2 separate regions of the Homo sapiens genome follow, and region 2 is linked to region 1. Evidence: promoter capture Hi-C in 16 types of primary human blood cells and fetal thymus (Javierre and others, 2016). All regions are on one chromosome and are shown on one strand. The core of a region is centred on a gene start or on the middle of the fragment in contact, and the rest is flanking DNA. Distances in the headings are between cores, read along the strand shown.

The links. Contacts are between HindIII fragments. The CHiCAGO score rates a contact against its expected background, and 5 or more counts as called.
Region 2: a contact is called between the fragment with the promoter of EIF4A2 here and a fragment that was not itself captured in region 1, in 1 of 17 cell types (total B cells). The highest score is 5.7, in total B cells.

The regions. Positions count from the first base shown.
Region 1 is chr3:187,063,101-187,065,800 of GRCh38, reverse strand. All of the region lies in intron 5 of ST6GAL1 (ST6 beta-galactoside alpha-2,6-sialyltransferase 1), which reads right to left. Among named protein-coding and RNA genes, the nearest start is that of RPL39L, 75 kb to the left of the region's middle. RefSeq lists an enhancer at 1-167. The HindIII fragment of the contact is 2,549 bases long and covers 135-2,683 here.
Region 2 is chr3:186,782,230-186,784,957 of GRCh38, reverse strand. It overlaps EIF4A2 (eukaryotic translation initiation factor 4A2), which reads right to left and starts at 1,381. Exons shown (of 11, transcript NM_001967.4): 1 at 1,319-1,381; 2 at 481-526; 3 at 262-394. The coding sequence starts at 1,347. SNORD2 (small nucleolar RNA, C/D box 2) reads right to left here and starts at 162; the gene lies at 93-162. RefSeq lists an enhancer at 476-705. The HindIII fragment of the contact is 20,029 bases long and covers 1,181-2,728 here.

The DNA of each region.
Region 1 (2,700 bases), core at 160-2,659:
AAATGGCATCAACTATTATTTCAAGATAAGCCCCACTGAGTAATCTGGAAATGTCCTGGTTGCAGTCCAGTCAGTGTGGACTGTTGCTAGGCATATAGGAAGTAGGTCTTCTCTCTCCAGCTAGCACAAAAGCTTCCAAGGAAGCCACTGGGTCTTCTTGTCCCATTGTCTCCTCTCTCAGGCCCACAGGGTACAGGAGGTACTGAGTTGAGTCTCACAGAAACCTTCTTACTCTTATAGTCAAAACTGCATTTATTTAAAGACCTGTCCATTTACATATATCATTTTTCCTGTTGACTCTCATAGCCACACCTGGCACAGAAGTGTCACATGCCTGACTAGGTCTGCTGGCCTGAAACCTAACAGTATGACACCATTCTCTATAAAAAGCCACCTTCTCAATAAGAAAAGTGCCTTTTTTGTTTTGCATGCCTTCATCATGGCCAAGGGAGGGGAGCTGAACAAATGTGGGTCCAGATGGCTTTAGAAGAGAGCTGCTAAAGCCAGGCGCAGTGGCTCATGCCTGTAATCCCAGCACTTTGGGAGGCTGAGGCAGGTGGATCACCTGAGGTCAGGAGTTTGAGACTAGTCTGGCAAACATGGCAAAACCCTGTCTCTACTAAAAATACAAAAAATTAGCTGGGCATGGTGGTGCATGCCTGTAATCTCAGCTACTTGGGAGACCGAGGCAGGGGAATCACTTGAACCCAGGAGGCAGAGCAGGGAGCCGAGAGTGCACCACTGCACTCCAGCCTGAGCGCAAGAGCAAAACTCTGTCTCAAAAAAAAAAAAAAAGAAAAAGAAGAGAGCTGCTGTCAGGAGACCTCTCCGTCTGGGAAAAGAACAAGCCACTCAGAGGCAGAATTCTACCAAAGCAACAGCTATTCTCTCAGTGACTTCTGGGTGCCAGATGTTCTCCTTGTGGAGTGGGGGTGGGGACCCCGTTTACTAATCCACAGAAACAGACACAAAATAGTTAGGATAACTGACCAGGACAAAAGATAGAGAAGACAGACCACCAGCTTTTTAGGATATCAAGGTAAGAAAGGGCAATGATAGAAAGTGTCCATCACAGTTCAGTACCACCACAAGTGCTGTCATGGAGCGGCCAGGACTCGAGTACGAAAGGAACAGCCAGATACTTAGTGTTGCTTACAGGAGGTGAGAAAAGAGAGCTGACTTGCCTAAGAAGCAGCAGGAAAGGCTCTCTTGAGGGTGGGTAGTGTATCCCGGGAAGTGGGCCACCTTCCTCGCAGCCCTGGCACAATGGTGCACAGAGATCTAGAAGTGTAATGGGAAAAAAATCTGCTTCAGTAGAAAGCCATGCATTTTCTGAGCACACTCTTCCTCCCTGTCAGATTCTGATTCCACGGGAGCTATTTCGCAACCCTTTGTGAATTGTAGGCAACTAATACATGTGCCTACTGGGCAGGATGCTGCCCAGGAGAGTTTCAATTGATTTCTCCCCTCCCCCTGCCTTATCTCACAGAAAAACTAGTTCAACTCCTTTACTCCAAATTTGTGTTGCTTTGACTTTTCCTTTGAACCAGTTGTAATATCTGCCTGGTTCCATCATACGAGTAAAATAAAATCTTCATGATGAATTCATTTTTAATATCTGTATGAGAGTCATCATCTTACCTTTTTTTCCCTAAAAATTATCCTTTAACAGAAGTTTTGCCTCCCTTCTGCTAGATGCCTCTCAAGTGGTCTCAAGCTGACTCACCTTCCCTGTTGGGATTTGGGAAGGTGGAGTCATTCGCAAACAGGCAGAGGCAGACATTCAGGTTTCAGTAGTGCCCATCGCTACTATTTACAAAGCACTTGCTGCATACCAGCCTCTGGGTGACATGCTCCACACATAGTAACTCCTTTGATCCTAAAAAAAAACCCTGGATAGTAACTATTCATATTTCTGTGTTACAAGTAAGGGAAATGAGGCTCAGAAAGGTAAAGTAAAGCAACTTGCTGAAGTCACTCACACAGGAAGTGTTGGGGGAGGGATCTGATCAAAGCCTGCCTGACTCCAGTACTCTTAATTCCCAGGCAACCTTACTTTGGCCTTAAATACAGTTTCAAATCTTTGCAGGACTGGGGTTTCGTTCTTCACAGTGAGGAAGACTGAATCATCACGAAGAAGTGCTCAGAGAGTAGGTAGCCTCCGCAGTCCAAGAGAGTGCTCAGGGAGGGCTCCTCCCCTCTCCCCTCTCCTCTTTGCTGCTGCCTGCTCACCTCCAGATCCTACCATCCATGTATCAAACAGAGATTGGTTTCTCTCTAAATTCATTCTCTTCAACCTCAAAGTAGCCCAGCATGGCCTGGAAATCCTACTCCATTCATCAGGTTTACTGACGGTCCCACTCACCTCAATGACAATTATAAATCTCTTTGTTCAAACCTTCTCTACTAAAACCTCTTTCCCCCTCAGCCTCCTTCTGACTTGGCCTTGCATGCCACTTTGCAGAGAAAATAGAAGCCCTCTCATCCTTCTAATACTGACTGCCTCCAGCTACACCACTCGCACCTTCTTCCCTCTGACTCCCGCCTGCTGGGGTTCATCCTCCACTACGCTTTGGCTCCACCACCATCATGTTGTGGGTAACTAATCATTTTCTCCTCTTTTTAGTATATTCACTTTCTCCCTCTATCAACTGGTTTCTCCCTGTTGATTTAAAAGAAAGCTTTTAAAATATACATAAC
Region 2 (2,728 bases), core at 132-2,631, 280 kb after region 1:
AAAAAGTAGGATACACATTTACCGATCCCACATCAAATTGTCACTTCTACTTCACACCATGTATTCCATTTGGAACATTATGCCCAAATAATCAAGTGATCAGCAATGAGTATTCTCTTCATTTCAGGTCAGTCCCGAAAGATGATTGCCATCATTTCACTTTAAGGAATACAAACAGGTGCTAGTCCCCCAGAGGTTACTTTCCCTTTTATGGTTCATGTCTATGTAGAACAATTTCCTAAAAATGCCAGTTTCTTTTACCTTTAATACAGGGAATAATAGCTCTCTGCTGAATAGCGGAAGGCTTCTCAAAACCGTAAGCATAGATGCCACGAAGGAGAGACTCCTTTAAATTCATATCATCAAAGTTATCAACAATCTCATTCCAGTTGCTCTGTAAGTTAGAAAAAATAATGCACGCATAAATGAGATGAACACACTCACCTTTCCAAAGCTTCAAGATCCACAACCGTTTCTTACCTCGATGACACCATCGGGGTCCATTCCCTCTGGGCCGCCATGTTCTCTGCTGACAAGAATACTGCAGTCAGACACCCCTTCCAGGCCACCTCAACTGCACCTTAAGCGCATAGCCCTTTGCAACCCGTCTCAGCACGTTAGCCTCCCCTGCACAAGCTAAAGCAGCAGCCTCAGGGCGAATATCCACACTGTGCGCCTTCCCTAAAGGTTGGGGCCTGCGGATGCCCGGAAAGGCAGCCCCCCAGGCCCGAGCGCATGGCGATCCCGTTTCAACTGCGGAGCGTCTCGCGAGAGCTCGGAGCGCCGAACTCCGCCCCCAACAATGCGCAAGCCGGGTGATTGACGCGGGCGGAGCGGCCTGGCGAGGGCGATGCCAACGGTTCACCGGCACCGGTCCTGTCCCGTCGCCTCCGCGCCGTGGCCGAGTGGAGACCGCTGCCTCCAACCCTTCCCCAAGTAAAGCCTAGGACCCTCCCCCAACTCGTGTGGATGACCGAAAATAAAGCTTCGGGTCCTGGTTACAGTGTACCGAACTCGGACTGCGCCACGGCTTTTTACTCCATGTTTCCCGTGCTCTACACTGGGAAGGAAAGCAGCCGAAGTTTCGTAATGTCTTAGAGAGGAAAAACGCCCTTTAGCCACTGCTTTCGCACCACCGTCCTATCTCCCCACAATCCGGGCCCTACCCATCATGGAAGCTTCTGGAAGGGCACAGGAGTGCTGTACCCTAAGAAAACGTCCATTAATTTAGAGTTTTTGCCTCCGTGCCATCCACTATCATCTCCCCTGGCGCCCTATGACCTTCACTACAGACCGCGACCGCCAACAGACTGCATACCTGTTATAATCCGCGGAGCCACCAGACATGATCCGAAAAACCACTCAGCGCCCGACTGAAAAGACAGCGGCGCCCAACCACCCGTTTTTTATAGGCTCGTGGCCGGAACCCGTTTCTTGCGGAGGAATTTTCTCGCCGTGCTTCGGTCAGCTACAAAATTGTGATCCTGGGGTCGTTACCTCGGATAAAATCCTAAGCAAGTTGGTAGAAAAACCCAAATGTGGTAATTTCTCGATATTACAGGGTCGCTGGAAATCCTAGGGCCCGGGGTTGGGTTGGGACTCTTTACCTCGCGGCGGAAGAATATAGCTGCGGAGTTAGTTAAACCTCGCTTTCCCCGCCCGCCCTGCTCCTACGGGGTTTCCGCGTCCCTGACGCAGAGGCGGGCCGGGGGAGCCGCGCCGGAGCCGGAGGCGGAAACCGGAGATGCTGTTCGTCGGGCGGCCGGGGCTTCCCGCGGGTGACAGGTCCCGGCTCGCGGCTCGCTGCCGGCACTCAGGTGCGGGAGGGGAACTCGGTTATTCCGCTTGCTCCCACCGCTGTTTAATTCCACAATGAAGACCTGCCTGGCATTTAGCCCGACCGTTAACATCCATTCAGATCTTGGAAACGTAAAATTCCTGCTAGGGAAAATGTCGGCCACCCAGCGAGTCCCGGGAAGTCCGGTTTACCGGTACATTTTGCAGCGCGAGAAGGAAAAATGGAGTGTCATTTGCAGATGTCTCTGGAGTGGCCAATTCTATTCTCATATCATTTCCGGTCTCTCGCTTTCTTTTTAAGAGTGTTACTGATTTTAACCTAACAGGTGTGAGGAATGCCTGAAAAAAATCATAAACTTTTGCAAATGGATAGAAACTAAGCAGTAATTTTCCTTGGAACGCACGAATTTAAATGGACGCTTTGGCAGATACAGCTCTGTGCCGCTTTGGGACTACATCGGTTTTGATTCCGTCTATATTGGTCATTTTTTAAAGGCTGTAGACTTTGCCGATATATAGTGAAATGTTGATTTATTGAAATTCAGAGCAATAATATCCTTGCTGCGTAAACTGCACGGGTCTTTAAGCTCCAGACGTTTTCAATTAGCCCCATCTCAGGTCTCTCGACAAAAACAAAAAACAATATATGTAGTCATTTAACTTTAAAATACAACCCTACCCATGGTGCAAAATATCATCGAGACTATCAGGGTAACATTTTCTCATATTTCAGAAGGCCAACTTAAAGAATCATTACTGGGAAAGCTGACTCAATTTTCTATATTATAGAAGATATTCGGTTCTAAATACTACTTTTTTAATACAAAAATTATTTATTTATTTGAAAATTCTTATCGTGCCAGGAACTAGGACAAAGATTAAGAATACCAAGATGGCAAAGTGGGCCAGGCCCTCAGTCCAGTGGTACTGC